2 separate regions of the Homo sapiens genome follow, and region 1 is linked to region 2. Evidence: promoter capture Hi-C in 16 types of primary human blood cells and fetal thymus (Javierre and others, 2016). All regions are on one chromosome and are shown on one strand. The core of a region is centred on a gene start or on the middle of the fragment in contact, and the rest is flanking DNA. Distances in the headings are between cores, read along the strand shown. Region 1 holds the start of FGF18 (fibroblast growth factor 18). Region 2 holds the start of CPEB4 (cytoplasmic polyadenylation element binding protein 4).

Region 1 (4,250 bases), core at 1,680-4,179, 2.5 Mb after region 2:
AGGATAACATTTCTTTATCTTTAGGGGTCATAGATGTTTTGAAACTCTGTGGGGAGCAGGCAACCCTCTTCCAGACACAGCACATTTGAGCACCATTTTTGTGCAGTGTTTCAGGGACCTCCCCCTCCCACAATCCCATCCTTTGACACTCCAAGGGTACATGGACCATGGGTTAAAAACATCAGTCTTATGGCACTTTGGATGCAGAAAGGCCGGTGGGGACAAGGGGGAAGGTGGAGGTGGTGGGGAGAGGAGGATCCCTCACCTGCTTGAAGGCTGCCTCTTGACCTAACCAGGGCAGACCACCCAGCTCTTTCCCAAGATGCTGGCTCTAGCTCTGGCCAGGAGGTGGAGGTGGGATGCAGAGTCCACACTCCCTCCCTCCAGCTCCCACGGAGAACACAAAGACCACACAGCAGCCCCTCCTGGGCCCTACTTCAAGAAGAACCAACAGCAGCAGGCATCCAGAGGCTTGAGCCACACATCCGCAGGCCTCCCTGCTACTCCTTGCCCATTTCATCCCTCCTGCCCCCAGGCACAGCACTCTGGAAAAGAGCTCTTGCCCAGGTCAGACAAGCAGACCCCCTGGAGTGACCCCAGGGCCTGCCCTCTGCTTGGGGACTCAGCTGCAGACCAGGCAGGCCATGCCTGGCACTGGCCTCCCTCTTTGACACCAGCCGTTCCCCACCCCCACCCCCATCACCACACAGGTCACATCTGCTTTGGCAAACAGCCAGTCTTAAGTTACTGACTCCAGTTATATTGATTCAAGGAGTCACTGGGGACCCCAGCCTGGCCAACAGGAGGAAAGAACCCATCAGTCCGTCCACCCTTCCATCCCCAAGCCCCAATGGATGCCCCCAGCTCAGTGCCTATCAGGAGGGTAACAACCCTCTCCTGGGCGTGGAAGGAAGATAGCAGGCCCACCACCGCCAAACACTGCGAGTGGCTGTTGAGTCGCGCAGTGCTCAAGGCACACAACACTCCTTGAGCCAGAAAACCGGGAGAACCACCAATTTCCTGTGCTCAAGGCTAGCTCTGGGGATCTCCACAATCCAGAAGGCTAAGGTCTAAGAATCTTCTCTAATCCCGGAAAGCCACCTGCCTTCCACCGAGGGGGAAGGGTCAGACAACCCTCTTTTGACCTGTGTCCAGTTCCTCCTGGCCTGGCCCCTTGCAGCACTAGGTGGGTGGGGGCTTGGGGAGCTGACGCTTCCTATTCCCTTTGCCCGCCGCCCCCCGACCCCCACCATGCAGAGGCAGCCCTGGTCTGGTTCTAATCGGGGCTGAAGTCGGCTCCCTTTTTCGCTCTTCTCTCTCCCTCCCCCCAACCCTTTTTCCTTCATTTCTACGGCTTTGGAAGCCAGAGCGTTCCAACTGTCTGCGTGCCAAGACCTTCCCGAGTCTGAAAGCTGCTGAAGTAACAGATCAGATTTTAGCAAGTGCTTTCCAGGCCGAGCGCCAAGCCCTCTTCTGATTCACGGAGAGCGAGCGAACCGGGAGCAGGCGGGGAACCAACGAGGGCTGCACCACCTTAGGCGAGGGAGTGCGGAGCGCGGCCCATCCGGGAGCGGCCTCGCGGGCAGCGGCCACTCGGCCTAGGCGCCCTCGAGCTTCCCCTCGTCCCGGGCATGTGTGTGTGTCTGTGTGTGTGTCTCAGTGCTGCAAGCGCCTTCAAAACCACAGAGTAATTTACAACTGAAGCTTTCTCCCTGGACTCGAAATCCACTCGGCTGAAAGTCTTTTTGTTTGGAAGCGGCGATGTTAAGGGAAGGTTGGCAGAGAAAATCCCTAGGTCCTACCCCTCGCTGGCTGCGGGCAGGGGTCTTAGAGCTGGGTATATTGTTGCGGCTGAGCCCGCCGGCTCTGCGGGATCTCCTCCCAGCCGAGGCCGACAGTGGCCGCGACAGCCAGCGCCTCCTCGGGCCCCGCGGCAGAGCCCCTTGCCCTTGGCCGGTTCCCCGCCGGCGCAGGGCGCACGCGGAGCCGCCCTTCCGCGCCCTGGGAACAGGTGCACTGGGCTCAGCGCCCAGGAGGGGTGGGGCACAGGGAGGGGGCGCGGCCGGGGAAGGGGGGTCGGCGTGTACCGCGAGGCAGGGGCGGGAGGAGGTCAAAGTCAGGAGCCCACGTACCTGTACCTGGAAGCACAGCAGCAGGAAGTGTAAACACCTGCGGGAAACAGATGGAGAAGCGGTCAGTGGGACCTGAGGAAGGGGGCGCACGGACAGACAGACACGCAGTCGAAGAGTCAGGTGAACCGACGGGCGGGCAGACAGAGGTACAGGGCACAGGCATACGGACAGACAGCCAGGCAAGGTGGGCAGCCCCGCGCGCGGGCGCTTACAGGCAAGTGCAGGCGGAGGGCGCTGAATACATCGCTGGGCGGGAGGGAGGCGGCGGCTCCTAGCCCAGCCTGCACATGTCCGCTCCGCGCGGCCGGGACCGGGCGCCTCCGCCGCCGCCGCCGCCGCCGCCGCCGCTGCTGCTGCTCCCTCCTCGCCGGCTGCTGCTGCTGCAGACTCTGCTGCTCCGGGGCGCTCCGCGGCGCGCCCTGCGGCATCAGCGCCCCGCGCGGCTCCTCCCGAGCGCTGCGCCCTCCGGGCTGGCGCAGGGGCTGCGGGGCGGCAGCCGCTGTGCAGGAGGCGCCTGGCCGGTGCGGGGAAGCTCGCTCACTGCTGGCCGGCCGGCCGTCCGGGCGTCCGTGGGAGGCTGGCTGCCCGGCTCAGTCCGGGGACAGCATGCGCGGCGGGTCTGGAAGCCGAGTTGCGCTCTCCGGCCCGGGCGCGGAGCTGCGTGGGGCCAGGGGTCAGCGCTCCGGGGTCGGGGCGCGCGGCTGCAGCGCGAAAGCGTCACGGCCGCTCCGTCTGGGCGCCCGCCGGCTCATGTCTCCTCCTCCGCGTCTCTCCGGCCGTGCGCATCGCCGCCTCCCACCACTGGCGGCGGCCGGGGCGTTTTCTACGCGCGGGCGGCGAGGGGGCGGGGGGCCGGGGGCGGGCCCGGGCCCGAGCCGGCACAATGAGGATGCGGGGCCTGGGGGCTCCCCCCTCGGGGCGCGGCCGGACGGGCGCTCAGCTCGCCTGGGTGCGCCCAGCCCACATCAAAGGCGGCCCTGCCTGCTCGCCTGCCTGCCGCGGCCTCTCGCTGCCTCCTCCTCCTTCTCCTGGCGGCTCGGGGTTGGAGGGGAGGCGCTCAGACTCTCGGAGACGGGACCGGCAGCTCCAAAGGGGCAGGACCCGCGAGACTGAAGCTGGTGAGCGCTGGAAGCCGTCGGAGCTCTGCGCCCGAGCGCAGTGACCGCTCCTCCGCGCAAACGTTGCCCAAATTGGGCAGGCGATGCTCCCCAAGAACGCAGTTAGGTACGGAACGTCCTCACCTGCCCACATTCGCTACTCGCACTCACTCACCAGCGCTCTAGTGGAGAGCCGAGAGGGGCGGGTCAAACCCAGCCCCGGGGCGGCTCCACTGAATGGGGGTCGCTTTTACCCGCCCTGCGATCGTGGAGTTTCCCAGCCACCCTCTTGACTGGCTACCCACTTAAGTGAGCCCCCGTCCTCTTCTTACGTCCCTGCCGCTGCGAAGGGGGCTCCCGGGCATCTCTCCTTCCCACCCCTCGCCCCCTCCGGGGCTCTGGGGTCGGTTCACGGGATCCCAGCTGGACTCTCCCGTAGGCGAGCCAGCTTTGGAAACACACGGCTACCACCAAGCGGCCCCGAGACGTCACTGCAACCCCAGCACGGACGGCTGCACGCCGGGGAGCAGCCAGCAGGACTCTGGTCAGCGACCACGCTGAGGCCCTCTTCCGGCCTCCTCCCAAAACCGGACTAAGACTTGCCTCCGTTTGCATACTAGGCAGCTTCGTTCCTTTAACCAGGGCCCCATTCAGGACACTGGTTCTTACCGCCTCTGCCCCTTCCAGAGGCATAACTCCTGTCCTTCCCACCAACCCCAAAACGTAGGTGTTCTTGTCACGTACCTGCCTCACTGTCTAGAGCTGGTGTCAGCCAAGCTCTGCTTGAGCCTGATGCTAAGGAAAATAGGTCACAGTGAGAAAGACGCTGGAGGACAGGCTCAAGCAAAACTCAGGAATCTGGACTATTTGGTTAAAGCCTCCTTGCGTTGGCAATGGTTGATGGTCCACTGGAGCATAAACTGAGGTAGGACTGTCGAACAGTGCTATTTGCTGAAGCCATGACTATAAAACATTAGTAATTGTTCCAAATATCAGGCCTCCTTGCAAGCTATTTTAAGTT
Region 2 (4,010 bases), core at 840-3,339:
TGTGGGTGGTGCTGTGAGAGAGGCCCGATCTGAGGAGAGAAGCTGCCTCCAAAGCCAGGGCTGACATGATGGGGGAAATTTTGAAACAACAGAGCACCGTTATTAGCCGAAGCAGCAGGGACCCCTCCCTGGTGAAAGAAACTTGCATCTTCATTGATTATTGTAGAGGAGGAAGGCGCTATCGCTGCTGACCAGTTACTGAAACCAGTAAGAGACGATGCGCTAGATGTCAAGGGTTGGGTTGAAGTACCTAGCCCAGTGGCTTCTTGATAATCAAACCCTGTCAACACTGGAGATTCGATCCTTATTTTCTCCTTCCCATTGCCATTTTCCGAAGAATTGTCCCCTTGATTTTCTTCTGATTTTGCCTTCTCTGTTTCAGGCAGTATTCCAGCTTCCTGACCTGGACTTGGGGAAAGCTGCTGCTTTTCTAAGGGGTCTTGCTGTTCCTGTTGCTGACTTTTTGCTTTTTCTGACCCCAAGATCTCATCCTGAATGTTATGGGTAGCTGGAGCAGGAAAAAGCCAAGCTGACCCAGCACTGCTGCCATTGGCAGCTGTGTTATTATTTATAAAAGCAGCAGGGCTGGGGGTGGCATTTTGGTGATGGTGTGGAGGCTGCAGATGTGGATGGAATCTGACTGGAAAAGCAGATTTATTCCCAGTATTGCTTTGCACTAGCACTCCAAACCCGTAATCCCCCATTTATTATCTTTAGGAGCAGAATCTCACAATAAAAAATGACAACCTGATGTCTCACGCCTTTTTTTTCCTCTACCCCAAATTTAAGTTGTTTGCTTGCTTGCTTGAAATGTCTTATTTATAGCTAGCTCAAAGATCGCAGCTTATCACCTTAAATTGTTCTGATTTGGAATTCTGGTCTCTGAAAGAAAAAACAACTCTTAAAAAAATCTCTTAAAACATTGACTTGGATCCAATTGGGCTTATTTTTAGGAGGGAATAAAAATGAAGAGGGTAAAAATCAAGTCTTTGGTTAGTAAAATAGGCGCTTTCTTTTTCCAAAGGAAAATGTACATGAATGACAAAAACAGAGCTTCTCAAGCATCTATGGATGTAGAAGAATAAGCCTTGCGCGGAGTAAAAATATAGATATATATAATTTAACAATCACATATGGTTTTCCTCAGCAGTTTAGATTCACTCACATAAAAATTAGAATAGGACTAAGAGGGGAATACGTTCTTTTCTTGGCAGCTTGGTTAAAAAAAAATCAGGAATAATTTAAGAACATTATATATTATATATTTATATATATAGATTATATTAGGTTATCTGGGGTGGGAAGTGAATTCCTGGTTTCGGGAGAGGAAATCAGCATTGACTAATGGAAAGATGATTGCAGGGAGGTTTCTGCTGTTCCTGGTCCTGTTTTCTGCTCTTTCGCAGGGTGCAGTTTTGGCCTCTGGGGCTGTTCCTGAGGCTCCGGGTGCAGATCTTGCTGCGGTCGCTGTTCCTGGGCTCCCCGCGGCTTCCTCTCCCCCATGAAAGGGGTTGGAAACACCCGTTTCTCCCTCTTGCGGGGGTCGCGATCAGGAGGGATTAGCGAGACTCGACGAGGGTGAGCGGGCGGCCTGGGGGTGCGGGGACCGAGGGGGCGACCTGGAAGGTCCTGCGGTTTCTGCCTCTTCCCCTCTCTGCGGCTCCGGGGTTTTTTTCCCTCATGGGACCCAGGGGCGGTTTGTTCAGTTCCCTCAGTTCGATTCTCCGCAGAGAGGGAAAAAAGAGGAAAAAAAGGAAAAACCCACTACCGTAGTTATTTTAAAGGAGAAGGGCCTCCCCCCTCGGCTTTCTCTCTCTTTTCCCCCAGAATTTTTTTTTAAACTATAATTTAGAAGGCTTTTGTTTCTCCTCACGGTTGCTGGGCCGTCGCCGCCGTCGCCGCTTTACCCTGGTCCCGCAGTCCCCGCTGTCGTTGTTGAGGACTCCTCCTGGTTCTTCTTTTTCTTTCCTTCTTCCTCCTCTTCCTCCTCTGCTGTCGCCGCTGCTGCCGCCGCCGCCGCCGCCACCGCCTCCCGGTGCCCGGGTCCCGCAGCCGCGGCTGAGTCCTTCTCCTCAGGACCGAGCCGAGTGAAATGACAACCAGCTGGAAAGACCCAGAGACACTTCCGGTTCGAAGAGGGAGGGGTGGGGGTAGCACTCATTCCCCACCTACCTGCCGGAAGACCAATCATCTGTTAGAACTCAGGCGAGGCCACGCCCCCTCGCTTCAGAGCTACTCCCAGGAAGGTCGAAAAGTTACCTCCAGAGACGCCTCTTCCGTCTGCGCCTCGCCTAGTGAGGCCCGGCGCCTGGAACCCGCTTCCCCCACCCAGAGTGAGCGCAGCAGGTCGCCATCTTTTGTGTGGGCAAGGGACTCCTTTGATATTTCTCTTCCCTAACTGGGCTTTGCAGGAGGAGCAATAGGGACGTGTCAAGGAGAACGGATTCCTCGCTCACGAAGGCATACGGTCAAGGTGTTGGAGATCGAAGTGGCGGCCCGTGAAACCGCGGATGAATGAGAAGGGTGCCCACAGTAAAGGTGGTGCTCCAAGCATCACGTGCTCTGGCCCGAGCTCCGCCCCAGAGGGATCTGGAAGGGGAGGCGGGTCTTGCCAGCAGCTGTGCGGTGCCTAGAACTGCGTTTGCCCTTGCCCAGAATGTAGACCTCACGAGGGACTCTCCCTTAACCTTCCATTCGCTCACCCGCACCTCCCACTCTCCCATTCTGCTAGGCTCGCATCTGGTGCAGTCTCCCAGGTGCAGAGATGCAGCTGAGGCGTCTGTGGCTATGCCCCCGTATCATCCCGATCTAGTACACCTTACACGCAATACCAGAGGGAAAATTCCAAAACTAAAATTTTATCTTGACCCTCACATGCTCCGATTTCTTCTATGGTTGCCCATTATTTCGAAGATAAAGGCCAAACTTGTTAGTCTGGTATTCAAGCCTTTCTACCTAATGGGTGGTATATCTTAGTGCCTCTTCCCCCTCCAAACACACTCTCAATGCCTTTTTACATGTCCTTTCCACTCTTCTCCTTTGGTAAATTCCTATTTATTTCTAGGAATCAGTTCAAAAGCCACCAACAGCATCTTCTGAATTCTCTCTTATAAGCGTCCACGGCCCTGTGTACCTCTCGTGCTTGTTTCTCACACTATATTGTGATGGTTTATGTCTTCCAGACCTGTGCTGGACCGTGGGCTCTTTCAGGAGCAGACATTGTAGATAGGAGACATCAGTGAATGAATCCTGAAAACGTGAATGAACAAACCAGCAACAATGAAGTCTTCCCTGAGTGACAGCCCCCCAACCCACTGCCACCCCTTCCACCCGTCACCCACCCCCCACCCCTCACTCCTGTTTCCAAGTCTGAATTAATTATTTCCTTCCTTTTGCCATTTGGTTTGGAGCTCACATATCAGACTTTTCATTATGTTTGGTACTCAAGGGCTTTAATGTCCTGTTTATCTTTGTACATTCCCAACGCTATGACCACCATCAGGGCTTAGGATAATGCTTTGCTCTCAGCACAGCTTTAAATATGTTAAATAAGTGAGTATTTTCCTTTAGCAGGAAGAAAAATGAACAAAGAAATCAGGGTAGAGCCAGAAGTAACTGGCACAACTAGAGGGAAAAAAAAGATACCAAGATTAATGAAAAATAGTATGAACAAAGGTGGCTTCCATTTCATTTCCATAGCCTTCCTCTAATGGTCTCAACTTCTGCCTCAGTCTGTCAATCCTCCATCACTTCCGTGTAGAACACCTGAGGGCCTTCAATCGGTGATTTTATTCTCTTTCATTGTGCCATGAGCATGAGTCTTGTCTCTGTAACTCTACTATGGATTCTTTGAGCATAGAGATTGGGTCTTACCTGCTGTTTATTCCCTACAACTGGACATGCCTGGAAACTTAGCTGGTTCCGTCAGGTGTCTTTTCCGCCAGAATGGTTTCCTTGACTGGCCCTCTCTCTAATGTCTTGTAGATTGCTCTCTTTTAATTACTGCTGGT

The links. Contacts are between HindIII fragments. The CHiCAGO score rates a contact against its expected background, and 5 or more counts as called.
Region 1: a contact is called between the fragment with the promoter of FGF18 here and the fragment with the promoter of CPEB4 in region 2, in 1 of 17 cell types (naive CD8 T cells). The highest score is 5.7, in naive CD8 T cells.

The regions. Positions count from the first base shown.
Region 1 is chr5:171,418,326-171,422,575 of GRCh38, reverse strand. FGF18 (fibroblast growth factor 18) reads right to left here and starts at 2,929. Exons shown (of 5, transcript NM_003862.3): 1 at 2,345-2,929; 2 at 2,133-2,169. The coding sequence starts at 2,376. RefSeq lists silencers at 2,423-2,502, 2,563-2,612, 2,753-2,862, 2,983-3,092. The HindIII fragment of the contact is 2,658 bases long and covers 1,707-4,250 here.
Region 2 is chr5:173,886,428-173,890,437 of GRCh38, reverse strand. It overlaps CPEB4 (cytoplasmic polyadenylation element binding protein 4), which reads right to left and starts at 2,089. Exons shown (of 10, transcript NM_030627.4): 1 at 1-2,089. The coding sequence starts at 704. RefSeq lists enhancers at 1-318, 2,343-2,582. The HindIII fragment of the contact is 9,803 bases long and covers 1-4,010 here.